4 separate regions of the Homo sapiens genome follow, and all the other regions are linked to region 3. The links are contacts of gene promoters, found by promoter capture Hi-C in blood cells and fetal thymus (Javierre and others, 2016). All regions are on one chromosome and are shown on one strand. Each heading gives the region's core, a stretch centred on a gene start or on the middle of the fragment in contact. The rest is flanking DNA. Distances are from core to core; before and after follow the strand shown. Region 1 overlaps PLAA (phospholipase A2 activating protein). Region 2 overlaps PLAA (phospholipase A2 activating protein). Region 3 holds the start of MOB3B (MOB kinase activator 3B). Region 4 overlaps LINGO2 (leucine rich repeat and Ig domain containing 2).

Region 1 (3,052 bases), core at 279-2,778, 600 kb after region 3:
AAATAATTTTTTATTTTAAATTATTTTTTAATTTTAATTTTAATTTATTTTGAGACGGAGTCTCGGTCTGTCACCAGGCTGGAGTGCAGTGGTGTGATCTTGTGATCTCGGCTCACTATAGCCTCTGCCAGGACTGCCTCCCGGGTTGAAGCGATTCTCCTGCCTCAGCCTCCAGAGTAGCTGGGATTACAGGTGCCCACCACCATGCGCAGCTTTTTTATGGTTTTTTTTTTTTTAGACAGAGTCTTGCTCTTTCACCAGGCTGGAGTGCAGTGGCGTGATCTTGGCTCACTGCAACGTCTGCCTCCCGGGTTCAAGCAGTTCTCCTGCCTCAGCCTTCTGAGTATCTGGGACTACAGGCGCGCGCCACCACACCCAGCTAATTTTTGTATTTTTAGTAGAGACAGGGTTTTACCATGTTGGCCAGGATGGTGTCGATCTCTTGACCTTGTGATCTGCCCAACTTGACTTCCCAAAGTGCTGGGATTACAGGCCTGAGCCACCGTGCCTGGCCCATTTTTGTGTTTTTAGTAGGGATGGGATTTCACCATGTTGGCCAGGCTGGTCTCGAACTCTTGACCTCAGGTGATCCACCCGCCTCAGTCTCCCAAAGTTCTGGGTTTATAGGCATGAGCCACTGTGCCCGACCAAAAACAGAAAGAATTTTTTAAATGTTTGTGTGCCTGTATGTGTGTTTGTGTGAGAAGTCTTCAATACAGAGGGATACAGATTTTTAAAATTTTATATAGAAATCAAATGTACACAGAAGTAGAGATATCTTATTTTTGTTTCATCTTCCCCCCTCCTTCCACTACATCATTTTAAAATTTCTGATATTCTGCTGTTTCATTTATAAATACATCCTTCATTATGTGGCTCTAAAACAGGGGTTGGCAAACTTTTTCTGTAAAGGATCAGATAGTAAATAAATTTTCTGCTTTTCAGGCCATATGGTTGCTCTCATAACTGCTCAACTCTGCAGTTGTAGTGCACAGCAGCTATAGACAGTAAATAAATGAATGAGCATGTCTGTGTTTCAATAAATCTTCATTTGTGAACACTGAAATTTGAATTTCATATAATTTTCACGTTAGAAGATTGCCTTTGATTGTTTTTCTCTCAATTACTTCAATACGTAAAAAACATTCTTAGTTTGTTAGGTATACAAATACAGGTGGCTCACCAGCATTAGTTTGTTGACCCTTCTAAAAGATAAGGACACTCACGTCCTCAAAAGAATAACCACAATATTGTTATCACACCTAAAACAAAACAAAACAAAACAAAAACATCCAGTGAATGTTCAAATTTACCCAGTTGTCTCATAAATCTTTTTTTACAGTTCATTTGAATTCTGACCCAAATAAGGTCCACATCTGTTTTGTTTGTTTGTTTGTTTTGTTTGTTTGTTTTGGAGATGGAGTCTCACTCTTTTGCCCAGCCTGGAGTGCAGTGGTGCAATCTTCAGCTCACTGTAACCTCTGCCTCCTGGATTCAAGTGATTCTCCTGCCTCTGCCTCCCAAGTAGCTGGGATTACAGGTGCCCACCACCACGCCCAGCTAAGTTTTTTGTAGTTTTAGTAGAGATGGGGTTTCACCATGTTGTCCAGGCTGGTCTCAAACTCCTGACCTCTGGTGATCCATGTTGTCCAGGCTGGTCTATAACTCCTAAACTCTGGTGATCTGCCTGCCTCGGCCTTCCAAAGTGGTGGGATTACAGGCATGAGCCACCGTGCCCAGCCCTACATCTTTCAATCTGTCAGTTTCTTTCTTTTTTTCTTGTTGCTTAAAACCAGATTATTTTAGCTGTAGAATTTCCCACAATCTCAGTTTTACTGGTTAAAGCCTTGTTTCCTTTAATGTGTTCTTCAGTCACCTATATTTCTTGTAAGCTGTTAAATAGATCTAGTAGCTTTATCAGGTTCAGATTCAAGTTTTTGGCAACAGTATAGGTGGTATTCTGTATTTTCTATTGTATCACATCAGGAAGCACACAATATCTTTTTGTGATATTAAGATTGATCAGTGGGTTCAAGTGTTGTATCTTTCTTTCATTATAAAGTTCCCATCAGCCTTTCACATAATGGTAATTTTTAGCAGCTACTGATAATCATTGCCTAGATTCAATATTTTATTAAGGTTTACAAAATGATTGTACTGTAATTCTAATATTATTTCTGCATTTGATCGCCAAGACTTTTCTGTATAGATCTTTCCACATCAACTGGTTACCATGTGGGACTTCTATACAGAAAAGACAGAATAAATGCTTTCCTTGACCCTTCTCCCAATTTATTTACTGGTTTGCAGAAGGAGTTGTTTCCTGAATTTTTTTTTTTTTTTTCAGTTCTCAAATTGTTCCATATCTGGCCATTGGAAACCTCTTTAAATTGGCTCCTGTCACCTTTTTATAAGACCTTCAGTAGTCTTCCTTGCTTTATTACAGAATGTTCTAGGTTCAGTTTGTACACTTCTTGCTCTAGACCTCAAACCAGCACTTTTGCCAAGAAGTCCTGTTTTTTTTTTTCTTTTACTGGGAAATGGTATTTTATCCAATTATATCATACTGATTTGTGGAAGAATGTAAAGAGCACCCAAGTTACAACTATTAAGATCTCAGACTGGGCATGGTGGTGCATGCCTGTAATCCCAGCACTTTGGGAGGCCGAGGTGGGTGGATCACTTGAAGTCAGGAGTTCACGACCAGCCTGACTGACATGGTGAAACCCTGTCTCTACTAAATACAAAAAAATTAGCCGGGCATGGTGGCGCATGCATGTAATCCAAGCTACGTGGGAGGTTGAGGCAGGAGAATCACTTGTGCCTCGGAAGCGGAGGTTGCAGTGAGCCAAGATTGCACCATTGCACTCCAGCCTGGGCAACAAGAGCAAAACTCCCATCTCAAAAAAAAAAAAAAAAATCTCAGTGATGTAACATATGAGTATTTCTCATTAACCCTACATGTTCAACATGGATTAATAAAGGGACTCTGTTCATCAGATTTTCTCAGGGACCCAGGCTAATGGGGCTTTCTCTCCACACATGCTTCAGT
Region 2 (3,034 bases), core at 2-2,501, 620 kb after region 3:
TTTTCGAGTCAGAGTTTTGTTCTTCTTGCCCAGGCTGGAGTGCAATGGTGCGATCTCAGCTCACCACAAACTCTGCCTCCCATGCTCAAGCAATTCTCCTGCCTCAGCCTCCCGAGTAGCCAGGATTACAGGCATGTGCCACCATGCCCAGCTAATTTTGTATTTTTAGTAGAGACAGGGTTTATCCATGTTGGTCAGGCTGGTCTCGAACTCCTGACCTCAGGTGATCCACCCGCCTCAGCCTCCCAAAGTGCTGGGTTTACAGGCGTGAGCCACCATGCCCAGCGATCTTATTTTTTAAAGTTCCCCAAGTGTTTCTAAAGTGGAGCCAGTTTGGAGTAACCCTGGGTTATGGGTGGACTCTGGGAATCTGTGTATTGAATCTGTGATTCATTCAGGTGGTCAGAAAACCATATTTAGAAAAGTGTGAGAGTGTACTTTACCTTTTAACAGCTTAATGCCTTGGGCAAGTTATTCAACCTTCTGCTTCTAAAATATTGTGAATTATAATGGTATCTATATAATACTTTAATGAATATATGCATAGAAGATGATTAACTGGCATATGGTTAAATTTCAACAAATCCATTTATTCTGTGTTTCTCATTATTTTAATTAATCTTACTTTTTTTTTTTTGGTTTTGCTTTTTTAATTTTCTTTGGCATTTCTGTATGTTTTGCGCCGGTTGTAACAACTCCTAGAGTATAAATTGAGAGAGGCTAGAACAGTAGCTCATTTTTCTTCTTCCCATAAAGGCTGATCCATTATTCTGAATATCTCCAAATCCTGCTGATTCTCTCTCTATACTTACTCTTTAAGTTTCCTTCTTTCTATTTTCAATAGGACAGCCACAAGTATTATCTATAATAAAATGTGACTGGGCTGTTGTCATAGTATCTCTAACTCTTACCTGAGTCTTTTCCAATTGTCTTATGTGCTAGTTAGTCCCACCCCTTTACTTCAATAGAATAGTGTTCACATTTTATTCTGGAAACTTTTATTTCTCTCCAATCCACTTACATTTTTGTAGTTTACTAAACTTCTACAATTATAATATATAAGGCATGTAATGTTTACTTTGTAGCTAACACTTATGATATGCTCAGGCACTGTTCTAAGCACTTTTCTGTATTAAATTTGTGGCATATTTATTATGTATATAATGACGCCATTGTGAAGTGTGCTTAATACTGGAAATAAGCGAAGGAGCAGTTTGAACTTTATAATTTACAGTCACCTTTGCTTACTAGGAGTATTATTGTATTGTAGGTGCTGGTCGTTATGTACCAGGTTCTGCAAGTATGGGAACTACCATGGCCGGAGTTGATCCATTTACAGGTACATACTTTTTATTTCTTTTTCTTTTTTTTAGATTTTAAAAATTCGTTGGAACTTTAATAAAAAGAGTAAGAAAATTTGTGTCATTTTCTTGCTTGAGAACTTTTTATATAGTAAATCGAGACCAAACTTGTCTGGCTTTTTGAGTTTTCTCAGAATTGTCTGATTACTACATTTTAGAATCATCTGGGGAGCTTTGCAAACGTACTTCAGCCTTATCCCCAGAGATGCTTACTTGGTCTAATTCTGCTCTGAGATGGGGGCTTGGCAAAGGGTAGTTTTATAATCTTCCAATGTGATTCTAATATGCATCTAGGATCGGAAACTACTGTTTTACTGTCGTAAATCTGCTTTCCTCACTACTCTTACAAAGTCTGTGTTTATTCTCATCTCTTCATTCTTAATGTGTTGAGAATGTTATTCACTGGATTATACATTGTTCTCTTTAAGAAGACTCAGGAAAGAATTTGCTTCTGTGATTTATGCCTGGAATAGCTATAGTTCTTCTGAGCAACTAATTTTTTTTTAATCCTTAGTTACCTAGTCTACAGTCTGACATACCTCACTTGTTCATTGAATATGTGCTGGCATGTTTTCCTCTGTATTGGCTGCCAGTAAAACACAGAGCTAAATTTGTGGTTCATCTCTTTCAGGTTTGACAGATATCTTGGCATATATTTTTTTCTAGTTAATTTTTATGTTCTTTGTAATTTATATGAGAGAAATTGAGTAACATATATGTTATTCAGCATTAAAATAAACACCCATAAACCTACCACTCAATAACTAACCTAGCATGTGTTTTTATTTTTTATTACTTTTGAGATGGGATCTTGTTTTGTTGCCTGGGCTGGGCTCAAACTCCTGGGCTCACATGATCCTCCCACCTCAGCCTCCTGAGTAGTTGGGTTTACATGCGCACACTACCATGTCCATCACTTGGCATGTGATTTTGTAAGCTATTTTTTAATTGCAAAAGTAACATTGGTTAGCAATACTGAAGTATAACATAGTACCTGTAATTAAGATTATGGATTCTGGAGTGAGAATCTAAATTCAAATCTCAGCTCTACTACTTTTTATCTGCTTGACCTTGAACAATTTATTTGATGTGTCTGTGCTTTTGTTTTTCTCATTTGCAAAGTTGAGGTCATATCTACTTCCTAGAATTAAGAACTTAAAATTATAAAATTTATGTAAATAACTTTTTACCAAATTAATGCTTAGTAATTGTTAGCTGTACTTGTTAACAAAGGTTAACAGTGCTCCCTCCCATTTTCCAGAAGTTAGTTTTTAACAGCATGGTGTGTATATTGAAGCTTTATATACCTTAGTACAAGCTAATGTCACCTCTCGCCTGGAATAATGAAATAACTTCCAAATTGGTCTCTCGATGATCCATATTGCAGACAGTGATCTTTTTATTGTTTACTCTGTTTATGCACCTCCCTTGATTAAAAAACTCTTCAGTGGCTTCCCAGTGAATATTTTTCTTTTGCCTTGCCCCACATTCCTCATTGCCTTTCTTCTGTCCAGCCATACTGGCTGGTGTCAGTTTCTTGAGCATGTAATAGTATTTTCTACCTCCAGAGCTTTGAACTCACTGTTTTCTTTTGGCATACTTATGCATTGCCCTTTGCCTTGTCATTTAGACCACAAATTATTGGCTGTTTTTCTCCCTTTTCTTTTTTATTT
Region 3 (3,116 bases), core at 153-2,652:
AAACTACCTGAAAATATTCTCTTTCTGTTCCTACTTTCCAGGAGATAACATCTTAAGGGACACTGAAGCTTGTGCGTGTGTGAGTAGAACACGTGCTGGGGGCTCTTGAGCTCATGAGGGAGGGGCTACATGTCGGTGGGGTGATAACTGTATGCTGGAAACAATGATAGGTGGTGACCCTGGAGCACTTACCATGTGACAGGTGTTATGCTAAGCATGTTGTATGCATTCCTTCATTGAATGACAGCTACCTATATTATCCTCATTTTATAAGATGAGGTAACAGAGCTTCAGAAAGGTTAGACTCAGCTGCTATGGGTCTGTCTGACTCTGGTGTTCTTCCTCTTAAAAACTGGGGCACTTTGGAAATGAGATTCCTCGGTGATGAACAGAAATATTGCTTAGCGGCTGTATTTTTGTATCTGGCAGTTTTCCCATATTTGAGTCTTATATTCACAATCGGTATCTTTACATTACACAAAAGTGACACAGAATTAGAGTCATTTAATCCAGGGTTGATATCATTAAGTCATGACTATTTATTAAATGTTTCTTACAATATCTGAGATGATATTGCAAAAGATGTAAGTGATTTTAGAAGTTCTCACTTCGTAGTTAGTTGCAGAAACCTCTTTTGGAGGAGGGATGTTTTCTCTATATATCCTAATTTCTACTTAATATATTTCCACACCTCTTTGAAGTGTGTAGTAAGAATGGTAAAATGCAGTACTTCGTCATTTGGTACAGTTCAATCAATATGCATTAAGATGTGATCATATGGGTAATAGAAAAATGTGAAAGATCCAATTCTTTTTCTCCAGAAGGCAGGAAGCTCATATTTGATTTCTGTTACTATAAACTATAAAAACGTTTCAAATGTAGTTTACCCGTAACCATCACCCTGCAAGGGTGATATTGCTCCCCGCCAATTTACGGAGGAGAATACTGAGGCTTTAAGGTTGTAGATAGACCAAGACCACACAAGTAGAGAGTGGCGGGCTGTGGGTTGAGCTTTAAAATCCAGGTTCATCCATGACTCCCAGTGTGTTCTAGTAAATCCACTAGAATCTGAGTATTTTCCAATGATTTATGCTCCGCTCTGTGTCAGGCAGTTCATGGTATTTTTCAACAATCAGAAAATCCTGGGGAAGGCAAACTGTTTCCCCCTCTCTAGGTGCCTTGGAAGTGGCCGTTGTGGACCCAGAGATCATCCTTTCTGATCTGACACCTTCTTCACTGCCCTGGCCCAGTGTCTTTTCTGCAAGGCTGGAAGCCCCCTTAGACTGGTCATGTCCCATCTCTTTCCGGAGGGAAGATGATCCCAAAGACGACTTTTCTCTCCACGGTGCTGCCATACCGCAGGCGGCCGCCAGGGGTCCCCGCTCGGCGTCCCCGCGAGACAGTCGAGCCCCGGCCGGCTGCGCGGCGCGCTGGGTGCATGAGGGGGCTGCTCCGGAGCGACGGCGGCTGCAGCTGGAGCCAGGCGCTCGCCCGTCCGCCGGTTGGCTCGCCGGGACCTCGCGCACCGGCGGCAGAGTCCCTTGCGTGGATTGGCAAGCGACGCCCCACCTGCCCCGAGCTCACCATTTTCTTTCGCGCTGGCTGCAGCTGACCCGGCGAAGGGAGCCGACCGGGCCCTGGGCTGGAGGTAAAACCCCACGGTGAGTAAGAACCCGCTCCAAGCTAGGGGAGGCGGCGCAGCCCGGTGGCTGCTCGCTCCCGATCTCGCCCGGGCGGGCGGCGAGGTTTGGGGCGCACCTGGGCGCGGGTGCAAGAAGGTGCGGGAGGCGGCGGACCGGTCTTCTGCCCGCCGGCCACGGGCTTCCGGGGCTGGAGTCCTCTTCAGACCCCTGCCGGCGCCTGGGTTTCTGGCCGGCTCCTCGTGTGCACTTCCCGGCAGGAACAAGGGTCGCCCACTTTCCACCCCGGGATCTTGATTTGTCCTTGATTTGAAAAGATATAAATCAATAAGATCGTCCTTCTTTCGGGGTGCAAGACTCCGAGCCCATCCCCAGCCGCGGACGCCTGCAGGGTGCGTGTTGGGCTGTGGGTGGCGGGAAGACAAACTTTTACAAAAGTGCGCCTGGGCTGGGGGACAACGCTTGGGCGTCCTGATCCTGAGGGAGGAGTCTCGGCTTGGGGCAGCGTAGGGGAAGTCCGCACCGTCAGCCAGGTCGCCCCCGGGGCTGACGATGCCTCACGGAGGTGGGGAGCGTGTAAAGGCCGTACAAATCGCGCTTAACTTTGGGGCCAACAACTGTCAAACATCTGGAATCCCAGCCCCTCCCTTTCCCTGAACTGGGGAAGAAGGTGAAAACCCTTCAAGTTTTCTTTGATTGCCCCTTCCCACCTTCAGACCCCTGCTGGGAGGGTAAAGCGCCGACCCCTGGTGCCTGGCAAGTACCAGAGACTCTAAATCTCTCGGGATCCCCCCCCTCGCGCTCTTTCCTGACCCTCTCCCCTAACCCTCCCCACAGAGATCTCTCTACGCAGCCGACTGAGATCGTGGCGAATGGCCTTTTGTTTCTCCGCGTTTCCCCTATTGTTTGCCTTTCCAACATCTGGCGGGGCTTGGGGAGAGAAGGAAGCCCCTCTGGTCCCCCTCCCCGGCCCCCACGCCAGCTCCGGCAGGGGATCCCAGCTGGGAAAGTGGAGGAGCCCGACCCCAGCGAGGCCGCCCCACCCCGCCCTTGTGGTTAGAGGGCGGAGGGAAAGTTGTTCCTTCCCCGCCTCCGCTGCTGCCTGTGGCCCAGGGCGCATTTCTCAGATCTCAGCCCAGGCGCGCCGCAAAGGCTCAAATCCGAGAAGGTGCTGCTTTCGAGACAGTGGAAGCGCGTTCCGCCCCAATCCAGAGCGTCCAGTGGTTGGTTCCAGAGGATTTCAATCTCTAGCCAAAGGCGTTGGGGCTGGGCCGCTGCTAGGGCAGTGGGAGGGGATCGGGGCACCTTTGGTAGGCGGAAAGCTGAGATTCTGGGGTCCACAAGTTTCCAAGGGCGGGAGGGCAGGCTAGTCGCCAAAAAGAGAACGAAGATGCAAATAACGAGGAAGCCTTATGACGTTGCCTGGAAATAGTAGTGTGGTGGTTCACTCCGGAATGAACGTGGAGTTCTGGCTTT
Region 4 (3,234 bases), core at 80-2,579, 540 kb before region 3:
TACTGAGCTGTCATTTCACCAAGTAAGCTATATGGTTTGGATTTTGAAGGTTTTGGTTTCTGCTGAAACTCAAAGATGGAAAATGTTCTGAGACAAACAAGAGCAAACTCTGCTTAATATTCCCTGGCATGGTCACCTCTTGGGAACACCCCTAAAGAAGGTTGAAATGTGTGCTTGCAGCTGCATTTTCTTAAGAGAGGACAGGTCTCAGAATGCAGAATAGAGAAGTAGCTTTTCCAGATTCTCCATGTTGTGTGCAAGACATCAACTGTGCCAGTTCATACACATGTTGTGCGAGTCCCTTTCCCAGAAAGCACACAAAAAGGAAAATAGGAGTCAGTATTCTTTATTATTCATCCAGAATAGATCATGCTTTGTGTTAAGTGAATAGAAAAAAGTGCAAGTAAATACTGATATGTAGAAGGAGGATGAAGATGGGATTGGTATATCTTGTCTCAAGAAAATCTTTGCTCTAACCAGACGATCATATGTACATTGTCTAAAGACTTATATAGTGTATAATAGGATGCAAATACATTGGGAACTGAATGCCTCCAACTGTTATAGTCATTTCATTGGTGAAGTGTCTTTGACTCTTTTAGTTTTCACTCTGCAATAATAAATAAAATTCAGAAATATATTTTATATCAATATTTTATATCTACATCTATATTTATTGTTAGAATGAAGAGAATGACGCACAGAAAGAGCTGTGACAGACAGCTCTTAGAACCAAATGGACCTGGATGTATATCCAGTTTTTATCACTCATTTATTGGCTAATTTTTGCCAAAGTACACAATACCTGTGAGCCTTAATTTTCCTATCAATACCCACCTTCTAGTGTTTTTAGGGGCCCTTGTCACAGATAGGAATTTGATAAAAATTATCTCGTATGATTATAAATGTATACATTTAAGACCATCTAAAGAATAGTTGGGAAAGTACAAAAACTTTACAAAATGGTAAGGACTAGAGAAATTTACACATAAAAAGTAATTAACTAGCAGCTAGGCTAGAGTAAATAAGTACAAAGAGTAGCAGAGTGATTGAAAAGGTACCAACAGTAGAAAACTATAAAGATTGTGTTGTTGCAGTTTCTATATTAAAGGACTATAAAGAGAAATGAGAAAGAACATAGCCTACTCCATATCGTGTTACATGAGTGTAGTGACTATGGCTGCAAACTTGATTGGCAATAGTTGTTAAGAGCTGAGCACCACACTTGAAATGTACAACCCAAGGATCATATATGCCCCACCTCAACCCCAAGGCACCAATAGCAGTAAACTGCTGAATTTGCCTGAAAAAGGGAGGAATATACATCTTCCAAATTTCCGCTATAAGTGCATGTAAGGCAGCATCACCCTTAGATGATTCCATAAGATAACTGTTGGTACTCAGACATGTAAACTATCTCATCTTCCTCAATATACTTTATAAACAGTAGTACTGGGGCCAGGCATGGTGGCTTAGGCCTGTAATGCTAGCACTTTGGGAGGCCAAGGCATGAGAATCACTTGAGACCAGGAGTTTGATACCAGCCTGGACAACATAGACCTTGTCGCTACTAAAAATAAGAATTTTAAAAAATAGGCAGACATGATTACTCATGCTGTAGTCCCAGCTACTTGGGAAGCTGTTGCAGGAGGATTGTTTGAGCCTAGGAGTTCAAAGTTACAGCGAACCTGTGATCATGCCACTGCACTCAAGCCTGGGTGACAGAGCAAGACCCCATCTCAAAAAACAAACAGAACAAAACAAAATAATAGTAATTCTGGTCCATGGCCCTATAACACCAAGTACATAATAATTACAGTAGTTATAAGATTTGCCACAGTAATTTGTTACTTCTAATGTTTATAGTACTAGTTTATAAATGATTTACTATTTTACATAAATTAAAGTGGAAACAAGGTTATCTCTATTATATCAGTATCACTCCCTAGCATTATGTAGATGGAAAAGCCATCCTGGGATTTAAGGCAGGACTGTAGGACAATCAAATAAACTGAAATGATTATTTGCACATGTATGTTTATGTGTGTTGGGATTTGTTTTTTGGTTTTTGGTATAGGTCATGTGGCTATGTGTAAGTTTTAAAGTCAGATAAACTTGATAGTCAAAAGGATTAGAGAGGAAAGAGAAGCCTGATTTGCTTCCACCAAGAGGTATAACTCCAACCAACCGCAGGAAAAAAACTGTCTTCATGATGACTTGTTTTCTGGTAAACTAATAGACTAGGGTTGAGGAAGTGAGGAATGTGTATATGCAGTTGTGCTTATAACATGGCTGGTAGAAATGGGGGTCCTTAAACCACCTAAAGTGGGTAACTCTTATTGAGTTAGAGGATCTGGAGTATCTCTCCAGGTTTAGGTGATCTGGCGAAACCTGGTCAGAGCGCTGTGTGACATTAAAGAGAGTGGACGGACATGAGCTTTTGCATCCTGAGCATGCTGCTCTGCACTGCCCATCTGCTGTTGCCCACTATGAGCGGCTTCTTGAGCTGCCCCTGCTCTGTTGTATATTTGTGCAGTGCAATGGCGACACTCACCAGCAATTGCTGGAAGAGCTTTCACTTTCCACATGGCTATTTGGCAGTTAAGCAAACTATTTTATGGCCTCACTGTTAATCTCTGCTGATGAGATTCCCACTGGGACCAGCCAGCACACTATAGAAGTGGGGAGACCTCATAAGTTGGATGTCTCTGGCCTTCTCCATGAACTCAACATCAGGCTCGCTGGGCACTAAATGCTGCTACTCTTTCAGTATGCTCCTCAACGTAGACAGAATACATTCTCTCATCAGAATATCTGGTGAGATTACAGAGCCAGAAACTCTAGAAGTTATAATTCCATTTTGGAGTGGTATAAGAAAGGCATTCGGAAGGAATATCAAAACCTGCACCATGGGTTGAATGCAAAGCAGTTTCTAGGCTGAGTCCTGCTTAAATTATCAGAAAACAGAAGGATTAGTTGAAATAGTTTCTCTACCACAAAAATAGTTCTGTTTGGCTTTAGGTTATGAACATTAGACAACCTGCTCTTCCCATAATAGCTCCATAGACAAACCTTTCTCTTGCCTCCTTCAGGGTGTCATTCATAGTATGTCTATGCTTGGAGTGATCTATTGCTAATTCAATAAATAATGAGCACTGACTATATGCCAGTATCTATTCTAGGCCCTTATTAAAAGAGATAAATAAAACAAAACAAACTCTACCTCAGGGAACT

Evidence for each region. The method cuts DNA at HindIII sites, captures the fragments that hold promoters and counts their contacts. A CHiCAGO score of 5 or more calls a contact.
Region 1: a contact is called between a fragment that was not itself captured here and the fragment with the promoter of MOB3B in region 3, in 1 of 17 cell types (M0 macrophages). The highest score is 5.3, in M0 macrophages.
Region 2: a contact is called between a fragment that was not itself captured here and the fragment with the promoter of MOB3B in region 3, in 1 of 17 cell types (monocytes). The highest score is 5.6, in monocytes.
Region 4: a contact is called between a fragment that was not itself captured here and the fragment with the promoter of MOB3B in region 3, in 3 of 17 cell types (M0 macrophages, M2 macrophages and M1 macrophages). The highest score is 19.0, in M0 macrophages.

What each region holds. Positions count from the first base shown.
Region 1 is chr9:26,930,450-26,933,501 of GRCh38, reverse strand. The region is part of intron 2 of PLAA (phospholipase A2 activating protein); the gene reads left to right. Among named protein-coding and RNA genes, the nearest start is that of PLAA, 15 kb to the left of the region's middle. The HindIII fragment of the contact is 8,628 bases long and covers 1-3,052 here.
Region 2 is chr9:26,912,184-26,915,217 of GRCh38, reverse strand. PLAA (phospholipase A2 activating protein) reads left to right here. Exons shown (of 14, transcript NM_001031689.3): 11 at 1,271-1,339. Among named protein-coding and RNA genes, the nearest start is that of CAAP1, 21 kb to the right of the region's middle. The HindIII fragment of the contact is 2,819 bases long and covers 1-2,660 here.
Region 3 is chr9:27,528,100-27,531,215 of GRCh38, reverse strand. It overlaps MOB3B (MOB kinase activator 3B), which reads left to right and starts at 1,402. Exons shown (of 4, transcript NM_024761.5): 1 at 1,402-1,661. It overlaps LOC124902107 (dapper homolog 3-like), which reads right to left and starts at 2,760. Exons shown (of 2, transcript XM_047424279.1): 1 at 2,490-2,760; 2 at 516-2,196. The coding sequence starts at 2,760. The coding sequence ends at 1,208. RefSeq lists silencers at 1,355-1,654, 2,625-2,674. The HindIII fragment of the contact is 3,596 bases long and covers 71-3,116 here.
Region 4 is chr9:28,069,237-28,072,470 of GRCh38, reverse strand. All of the region lies in intron 6 of LINGO2 (leucine rich repeat and Ig domain containing 2), which reads left to right. Among named protein-coding and RNA genes, the nearest start is that of C9orf72, 500 kb to the right of the region's middle. The HindIII fragment of the contact is 4,763 bases long and covers 1-3,234 here.